Linked DNA regions of Homo sapiens: region 2 is linked to region 1. The links are contacts of gene promoters, found by promoter capture Hi-C in blood cells and fetal thymus (Javierre and others, 2016). All regions are on one chromosome and are shown on one strand. The core of a region is centred on a gene start or on the middle of the fragment in contact, and the rest is flanking DNA. Distances in the headings are between cores, read along the strand shown. Region 1 holds the start of GCC2 (GRIP and coiled-coil domain containing 2). Region 2 overlaps C2orf49 (chromosome 2 open reading frame 49).

Evidence for each region. Contacts are between HindIII fragments. The CHiCAGO score rates a contact against its expected background, and 5 or more counts as called.
Region 2: a contact is called between a fragment that was not itself captured here and the fragment with the promoter of GCC2 in region 1, in 2 of 17 cell types (total B cells and neutrophils). The highest score is 7.5, in total B cells.

The regions. Positions count from the first base shown.
Region 1 is chr2:108,446,254-108,451,240 of GRCh38, forward strand. It overlaps GCC2 (GRIP and coiled-coil domain containing 2), which reads left to right and starts at 2,953. Exons shown (of 23, transcript NM_181453.4): 1 at 2,953-3,027; 2 at 3,380-3,436; 3 at 4,775-4,859. The coding sequence starts at 3,022. RefSeq lists enhancers at 1,893-2,875, 2,780-3,039, 2,876-3,857, 3,943-4,443, 4,444-4,944. The HindIII fragment of the contact is 5,578 bases long and covers 1-3,931 here.
Region 2 is chr2:105,338,889-105,343,875 of GRCh38, forward strand. C2orf49 (chromosome 2 open reading frame 49) reads left to right here. Exons shown (of 4, transcript NM_024093.3): 2 at 695-861; 3 at 3,960-4,335. Among named protein-coding and RNA genes, the nearest start is that of C2orf49, 3.8 kb to the left of the region's middle. The HindIII fragment of the contact is 2,746 bases long and covers 1,344-4,089 here.

The sequences.
Region 1 (4,987 bases), core at 1,703-4,202:
ACTTACATTCTGGCTCACTATCTTATCCTGTATAATAAGAGGCAATAGGTTAGGTCAGAACTACATTCACTTGTAAGTATATTAAAAGTAAATTAAAACATATGACTTATCTTTTAGCTACATCAATACAATATAAATGGGCCGGGTGTGGTGGCTCATGCCTATAATCCTAGCACTTTGGGAGGCTGAGGCAGGTGGATCACTTGAGGTCAGGAGTTCAAGACCAGCCTGGCCAAGATGGTGAAACCTTGTCTCTACTAAAAATACAAAAATTATCCAGATGTGGTGGCACTTGCCTGTAGTCCCCGCTACTCGGGAGGCTGAGGCGGGAGAATCACTTGAACCCAAGAGGCAGAGGTTGCAGTGAGCCAAGATCATGCCACTGCACTCCAGCCTGGATGACAAAGCAAGACCTGTCTGAAAAAAAAAAAAAAAAAAAAAGGAGAAGAAAGAAAAAAAAATACAATGTAAATGTAGTTTTTCCATGCTTACCTTAAGAGTTATAATCAAAGCACTGAAGAGCCAAGGATTGATTTTTCTGAAATAAAACTTGCTAGCGAACTAACAAAAAAAGATCAGGTGTCTCTCCGGACCATCCCTAAGCAACAGGTGCCTTTTAATGTGGCTCTTCAGGAGATAATGGCATGTTGGCACCATTCCAAACTGGTAAAGAAGCTATTTTTACTTAGGCAAGACCCTGCAACTTGCTCAAATTATATTATGTTTCAGTAGTGCTGGTTAACATACAGCAGTCTCCATCTACTATACAATGTGACCAGCACAGCACATATTATTGACATTGTTATTAACATTGTTCCTATTTTCTATTTCCATAAATGATTCAAGGTGATTTTTATTTTCTTTTCGGAATTTTCCTATATTTTCCAGGTGTTCTACAATGAACCTGTGTTACTTTTACAATTGGAAAGAAACATATTCGTTAAACAGGTCATAGTTCTGCTCATTAAGGTAATATACATCTTTAAAATGTGAACTTATCTGCAGTCCAGAGAATGTGAAATATAAAGCAGATCTTTCCTATAGGTTTATGAATATCAGAAGATCTCAGAGTACTCACAATCAATTCATAAATATTCATTCTTTAAAGTATGAAAGATGATAAATATATTTAGAAGATTTCAGCACTTACTATAACTAGTGAAGGAAGAAATAAATGATTTCTTCCTTAAGAGGAACAACAACAGAAGGTATCCGATGGTCAAGAACATTATACCTGCCTCCATCATCTCAGAAAATAAAATTCCTGTCCAATGACAACCAGGAAGGCAGATGGGGGTGAGCTCGAGCTGTGTGAGGAGGCCGCTGATGACCTGGAGCTTAGGGGTGTGCTGACCCTCATCTCCCTGGGGATTCCCAGGAGACGCTGCCCTACCTGTAGCTGCAACTCATGGACCCTGTTACCCAGCCAAGTGCAATGGAGGGCTGGCGAGGGAAGAAAGATCAAAGGAAGAAAAGAAAGGTTCTTTTTTATTTCAAGTATGAGAAAAAGAGAGTTCTACTGTGAGAACATCAACTCTTCTGTAGCTATTGATGTAGCCAAACTCCTGGAATGTAACTATATCTAACAGTGTTTCTCTGAGAAACTTTTACAGGATTGGAATGTGTGTAGTATCTAGTTAACCTGCTATTTTATTGCAAGTGATTTTTTCAAGTTATTAATTGAAATAGGAGTCTACCGTAAGTTGCTCTTAACTTGGGGAACTACTTTGAATGGCATTAATCTGGACCATTAATAACAATGTATACTTGGGGATTGTGTGTGTGTGTGTGTATACATGTGTGTGCATATATGTGTGTACACACACGTGCACACACACGTGCGCGCACACGTGCACACACACACGTGCACACACACACGTGTACACACACACGTGTACACACACACGTGTGTTACTGTACGTGGAGACTGTACATCTTAGGTCACACACCACCCCTGAACCAATCCTACAAACACCATAGGTGATACACACTGTCAAAGACAAAGAGTAGATGTCCACAATAGCTGTTCTTTCTCGTTTATAACACTTCTTTTACCTAGTAATAATCAGCTACCATTTACTCGATACATACTGTGTGCTGCCTCTTCAACCTTTTGACCATTTAAACTACAGGAAACTAGGTTATCTTCAGGTTACCTTAGTTATGGGAGTGTATGGAAAACATTAATGGGAAGGTGAAAGCGCAGCAAACCACTTCAGCAGTTAACAGAAAGGCTCTCAGAGCACTGGACCGCCAATCAGGACACAGCAGCAGCTCTGGGATTCGACCACAGATTCTCTGGCGTGCCCTTCGGGAAAGGGTGGCCTCGGGCCCCCTACTCTACAGAGTCTCCTCCCACGGCTGCCCAGTTCCCTGGCCGACTATCTTGCCTCCACCACATCACCATCAGTACCGGGCGGCTGCAGGGCAGAGCTGTCCAGGGACCTCCTCACAGCCTCCAGAGTCAAGAAATGCCTCCTCAGGGAAGCCCTCTACCGCATCCCTGACCTGTGAGTCACGGAGCTCCCGGGCACCATGCTGGCCACAAATGCCTAAGGAGCCCCCCGGAACCAGCTGTGGGTCCCGCAGGCACTCGCAGGCTAGCGGACACCTTTGGAGGACTGAGAGACCTGTCCTGCAATCCAATGTTCCTCACTCTCACAAGATTTTACAGACGTGGAAACCGAGGCCCGAGGCCCCAAGGGGTAATCGGCCCGCCTTCCCATGCCAATAACCGGCAGTGGCGGGACCCACACCTACTCCGTGACCTGCAGGCCCAGGGGTCGAGCCCCAGGTAGAACGTCTAGACGGACTCCGCCCTTAGCGCCGTACGGGGAACCTTCTCCCGGACGCAGACACGGAAGCGGAAGTGCTGCCGAGCTGTAGCTATGGAGACGTGGGGGGCGGGCCGCCCGGAGAGCGCGACCTTTGACCTGCAGTAGAGCCTACGTCAGAGGCTGGCGCAAACAGAAGTGCAGCGGTGGCGGCGGCTGGTTGCGGGCCGGCGGCGGGCTGGCGGAGATGGAGGTAACTCAGGTCGGGCCCACTGCCTCCCATCAAGCCTTCCGCGCCGCGATTTGGGATGTGGGAGTGGGCCCGATGGGAGGGCGCGGTAGTCTCCCTCTTGGTGTCCCGAAGCCCGCGCTGCTGTCGCCTCCCCATCTTTCGTAAACTCTATCCCTGGGGGTTACCTGCCCCGTAGAGCCCGTTTGTGTACGAATTGCCACAGCGACCGCCTCCGTCCGCCCTCATTCTCTGTCTCACGAGGCTTTCCACCACTTGATTCCATAGAAGGTTTTTCCCTGTAAGGGTTCTACGCGTTCCGTGTGGAATTAGGAAAAGAGTTCTTCTGACACCTGGGTTTGATTTTGTTTTGCAGGATCTTGTTCAAGATGGGGTGGCTTCACCAGCTACCCCTGGGACCGGGAAATCTAAGGTGAAGAGAATACTTGAATAGCGGGCTTCCTGAAGAGTGGAAGGGTGATGAATTGGAAAACTTTGGCATGGGGAAGGGGGGGGCGCTGATTTTTTTTTTTTTAATAGCCTTGCTCCAAGGGATCTCAATTTTAGTGTGCGCAATCGCCCATTTCCTGTTTCTCCCCCGCCCACCCCGATATAGAAAGACTTTTTGTTTGCTTCCTGCTCCTGGTTAGCACTGCTGGGAGATCCTGCTATTTTTCGAACATAAAGCAGTCTAAGAAGGTTTATATAGTGGTGTAGTGGAAGGAGCAGTGACATAGGGTAGGAATCAAGGGATTCTGATCTGTGGGCTCCAGTTTCTACATTGCCAAAGAGTTTAATTAGTCCAGTTTTATGGCCCTGTACAATGTTTAACATTCAATCATTCTAAATGATAGTGGTTTATTGCTAAGGTTTATTGTGTGCATGCTAAATTTCTGGCGCTTGCCTAACCACTCAGTTCCTTCGTTTAAGCTTCATGATAACCATGAGATAGGTACTGTTGTTACCCTCCTTTTACAGATGAGAAACCTGAGACCACAGGCTTAAGCAATTTTCTCAAGTGGTAAAGCTCAATTTTTTAATTAAAGCCTGAATGTTACCCGGTTCATCTTGCTGCTGTAATTATGCGTAAATTTTCTTGTGACCAAAGACTTGCAGCCTTGAATAGAATGAAATAATTTTACAGCTCCAAGGAATTTTAAGTAGCATTAGCTCCAACCTACTGATTTTACAATTAAATCAAAAGCTAGCAATGTCAACCTGTAACATTAGCTATAAGAGGATATGGCCTGGTTTTTACGTTTCATAGTAGTTGCATAACTAATTTTTAGTAGTTGCATAGCAATTACAGAATTGACGTTGCATTTGCTGATTTTAAAAAATGTGGCCGGGCGCGGTGGGTCACGCCTGTAATCCCAACACTTTGGGAGGCCGAGGCGGGCAGATCACCTGCGGTCAGGAGTTTGAGACCAGCCTGGCCAACATGGTGAAACCCCGTCTCTACTAAAAATACAAAAATTAGCCGGACGTGGTAGCGGGCGCCTATGATCCCAGCTATTTGGGAGGCTGAGACAGGAGAATTGCTTGAACTTGGGAGGCAGAGGTTACAAGTGAGCCAAGATCGTGTCATGCACTCCGGCCTGGGCAATAGAGCGAGACTCTGTCTCAAAAAAAAAATGTGGAACAAAGTATGCGGTTGGCATAAAGATTTATTCTGTAGAATGTTTTTGTTTTCTAGCAGACATTGTTTCTTTTTTGTGGTATACTAGAAACATGAGTTATAACAAGTTGGTAACATGACCACATCTTTCAGCTGGAAACATTGCCCAAAGAAGACCTCATCAAGTTTGCCAAGAAACAGATGATGCTAATACAGAAAGCTAAATCAAGGTGTACAGGTATTGGGTTGAAAATACTCATCTTGATCACAGTCTCTTTAATCGTGGTTTAAAATGGTAGTTTTTAAAATAATGCATTGGCTTGTTTTTGTTTGTTTTCCAGTGATTCCAAGTACACCTTAGTGTAG
Region 2 (4,987 bases), core at 1,467-3,966, 3.1 Mb before region 1:
GTGCTTATGCTATGTTTTTCATGATGTCAAGAACAAATTGGAAAATGAGGAAGAATTTGGTGATTTAGATAGAGATGGTTGGACAATGACTGGAAGCTTACTTGAAAGGACCAGTGAAAATGGGGTGCAGGCTTTTCTAATGATGTACTGCTACTGTCGTCAGTACGGGAATAACAGTTTCTATTTGTGGTATTATTTGAAATCTTGGTAGTTAACTTCAATTTAGGAAGCACCAGATTAGAGAAGCACGAGAAATATAAGACAGACTGAGACCTTCATCCCACTAATCTGATCATGATAGTAACACTCAAGGTAGCTTATTGACAGAATGTGGTGATTGTTAATCATTGTTAGCTTTCTTTTGTCAACAGGCAGTCTCCCATTTTCAATCCCCTTTGTATATTAAGATAATTTTACTGGAAATGATCTTTCATGCTTGGTGTGTTGGCTGAGCAGTTGTGGACAGCAATCCCTGTCACACTGAGAAAATATGACCATTGTTTTTAAGATGAGGCTGAACCTAGTATCTACAGAATTTAACCTTTAACACTGTCTCTAAGTGCGCGTGTTATTGTGAAAATGGCTTTTTATAATTTGTTATTTAAGCAGTAATGTTTTACCATGTTAGGTAAGGTGGTTACTTGTTAAAATTAAAAACATTGTTTTGAAATTACTTTTGTTTCCTTTCCCGCAGAAGAACATAGCTGTTGAAACTGATGTAAGAGTAAACAAAGACAGTCTTACTGACCTTTATGTCCAACATGCAATACCATTGCCTCAGAGGGATTTGCCGAAGAATAGATGGGGGAAAATGATGGAAAAGAAAAGAGAACAACATGAGATTAAAAATGAGACTAAAAGGTACTTTTTGGTGGTTCTAGCTTTCAATTTATCTTATATAACTAAAGTTATATATAAGTTATTGATTTTTCCTGAGATAAACTTAAGTAAAAAATTTATTTACTCAATGACTATCTATTGAGCACCAGGCACTGTGCGTATAGCAGTGAATAAAACTGACAAAATTCCCTGCTCATATTTTTGATGGGAGAAACATAACAACAGTTAAAATATGGTATTGTTATATAGTAATAAAGGCCAGGGAGAAAGATTACAATTTTTGGTAAATTATCCAGGAAGATCTTAGTGAAAAATGACATTTTAGTAGAGAGACCTGTAGGAAGAAGAAAACAAGCTAGGATTCCAGGCAGAATACAAGAGGCTGGATCTGGAATGTGCCCATCATATACCAGGAACAACAAAGCAGCTATCAGGGCTGGATGGAGAAGTAGGAAGAACGAGTTGTACTGGGGGCAAACGGGAGAGATTGTCAGATCATGTAAAGCTTTGTAAGTCATTGTAAGGACTTTGGCTGTACTCAGATGAGAAGCCACTAGAAGGTTTTAAGCAGAGTGGTGACATCATTAGATGTACATTTTGACAAGATGACTCTGGCTGCTGTCCTAAGAAGTGATTTAAGGTGTGTGGGGAGGGGAAGCGGTGTGTATAAGACTGGAAGCAGGGAAACAAATTAGAAGCCTGTACTGTAATCCAGGCAATAGATGGCAGCAGCTTTGACTACAATAGTAAATTTGGTGGGTTGGAGCATGCATGTATTTTGAAGATAGAGCCAATAGGATTTCCTGAATTTTGAGGAAAAAGTCAAGTCAGGTAAAACTCTAAGGTCTTTGAATAATACACAAATGAAGGGCCTGTTAACTAGCTTAAGTTATGCTATTTAAAATTATTTAATTTCAAAAACAGTTTTATAAAACCACAAGCAAGTGATTTTTTCTTTTTTAAAGAAAATTACATTTGATTAATCAGTGTTGTTGATTGGTTAATAAGTACAAAGTGTCCTAAGATCCTTAAGTGAACTCTTCTGTGTCTATTATATCTCAAGTGGATACTATTGATCAATTAATTTTTTTTTAGGGCCTTCTATTTGTAAGGCACCGTCATAGGCAATCCACTAGAAGCAGTGAGAGAAGACAGAGTAGGAGGGTAGGGGTAAAGGGGAGTATGTTCCTCTGAGTTTTAATCTCTGTTTTACAAAGAAAAATTTAATGATTGAGATTATTCTCCAATTATGAAGAATAGTCGAAGAATACATGTCTGCTCATTGTCTTTTGGAAAATACACACACAGTCTGACCTTTGATCAAGAATGCATTTTAGATTGACCATTTTAGCTTGATGGTTACTTTACTTACTAGTACAGACTATGTAGTGGTGTTAACTTTCATAAATATGGGTTACACTGCATATGGCTTTTAATTTACTTTTGCTGTTATTCAGCCAGTATTTTCCTCTTGATCAGCACATTCAGGCATATTGTTCTAGTAAGCAAAACTTTATGTGCCAGTCATACTTTCCTTTGAAGCAATCTTTGTACAACTGTCTTGATTAGTCCCCCAAAATCATTTTGGAAAGGATCTTTGACTCTATTTTTTAAATACACAATTGAATCAGAGCATTAAAACTGGAAGGATCCAAGAGATCATCTTGTATTGTTGAACTACTTATTATTTTATCTGTGGAGGAACTGAGATCCTGAGAAGTGCTGTAACATGCCCAAGGTCACACAGAGCTAGGACCAGGTCCATAGCAACATAGCCCTGTGCTTCTCAAACTTTAATGTGCTTCTTGAATCTTAGATTAAGCAAGCTGTCAAACCCTGCTCTCAGTCCCTGTTTCCCTTCTACAAAGGCAGTGGGTATACAGTGAGCTTACTTCTCATTTTCTACCAAATGATGTTCAGTGATGACCCAAGAATTGTTGAGTTTGGCCAACTGCTAGAAATCTGGTTAAAAGGTGAGTTCTGATGTATTCAGGTTGATGCCCCAGATTCTCCATTTCTTACAAGCTCCTAAGATACTGACTGACGTTGCTGTGCTGGTGCTGCTGGTCCCTGGATCACACTTTGAGTGGCAGGGCTAAAATGTTCTTCCTGATAACTGGCTATCTCAGATTCTTTTAACATGTTTAATTAAAAGGGTTTTTTTTTGGGCCAAGAGCAGTGGCTCACGCCTGTAATCCCAGCATGTTGGGAGGCGGGCGGATTACCCTGAGGTCAGGAGTTCAAGACCAGCCTGGCCAACATGGTGAAACCCCGTCTCTACTAAAAATACAAAAATTAGCTGGGCACTGTGGCATGCACCTGTATCCCAGCTATTCGGGAGGCTGAGGCAGGAGAGTCACTTGAACCTGGGAGGCAGAGGTTGCAGTGAGCCGAGATCGCGCCATCGCACGCCACCCTGGGCAACAAGAGCGCAACTCCGTCTCAAAAATAAATTTTTTTTCAATTCATCTGTGAGATAGGTGATATAGATATTATCTGAGGTATAATAAGTAATAAACAAATGAATGCTTTCCTTATTAACCTTTACTATTAAGAGTGGAAATTAGATTTCCAGAAGGTAAGTATGAGACACTTGCCAGATTTTACAATTGAACTTGTACAAATGTCCAGTTACGATTAGTTTAGAAAATGTCTTGGCTTTAGAGACCTTTGCTGAATGGAGTAGAATGCTGTGCCCCATTTGTAGATTGCTGCTGTGGTAGTCTTGGTATAGTTTTATAGTTTATCATCCTTTTAAAATAATAACTGATTACATGGTTAAGATAACCCTATCAATAAGCTGGTGTTTGTTTTTTAACTAGGAAATCTCATTTTAAGTTCCAGGGCTAGATGGTTAATTGATGTTTTAAAAATAGCTGCATGTTGTGTATACATGAAAGCTAACTTTGAATTTCTTGTACATAAATATTTTAAACTTTGAAATAAAACACTAGGAAATTCTTTCATTTAGAATGAACATAGAAAATTTCATTTTTAATAGTCTCAGATTAGTCTTATCAGAAAATCTTTTTGTTTACTGCTTATTTTAACTTGAATCCCAGTGAACTGGTTTGCCGTTCCAGATGGTATTTTTCAAGAGTGCATCTCTTTGATTTCAGGAGTAGCACTGTAGATGGGTTAAGGAAAAGACCCCTCATCGTATTTGATGGAAGTTCAACAAGTACAAGCATAAAAGTGAAAAAGACAGAGAATGGAGATAATGATCGACTGAAGCCTCCCCCGCAGGCAAGCTTTACCAGTAATGCCTTTAGAAAATTATCAAATTCCTCTTCGAGTGTTTCACCCCTAATTTTGTCTTCCAATTTGCCTGTGAACAATAAAACGGAACACAATAATAATGACGCTAAACAGAACCATGACTTAACGCATAGGAAAAGTCCTTCAGGCCCTGTGAAGTCGCCACCATTGTCCCCTGTTGGAACTACTCCAGTGAAGTTAAAGAGAGCTGCTCCTAAAGAAGAGGCAGAGGCCATGGTAAGTATGGGGGTGGTTTCCATGCTGGTAAGTGGTCTGAATGAAACTTGAGCAGTCTGCCTCATGACGGGAGGTGGGTCGACTGTGCTACATTCTGTTCTTGAACCCTTTTGATGGTCTGTCTGATTTGTATAATACAACTTATTACTCCAGTACTTGAATCCTGGAATTTAAAAATCCATGGTGATTAATGTTTTTAAAAGTTCACTCAAGTTATTTCTGCTTAAAATACGTAGAGAGAGGATCTGTTAGGCAGTTTTCCTAGATTTTTCTCATTTAGTTCCTTTAACTGTCTTGGAACTAAAACAGATAAATATTCCTTTATTAGCAAGGTTTAGAACATTAAGTAATTTGTCCAGGGTCACACATTTATTAAGTAGCATTTGGGGCCTGACCTTAAGTCTGTCTGTTTGTGCATACCTTAAAACCACACCAGACACCAGAATCTTTTTAAGATTTACCACTTGCCTCGCCTACTGCTCAATTTACCTAGCTTTGTGGGGATAGCAGAAGTTGGGGAAATCTATTATGTTGTGCTCCACTATGTTGAATCATTTGGATGCTTGTTGGCACATTTAGTGCAGTTAACACAATGTATTAGAGTTTAATTTGTGAGATGATTTATATATATATAATATAAAATATATATAGG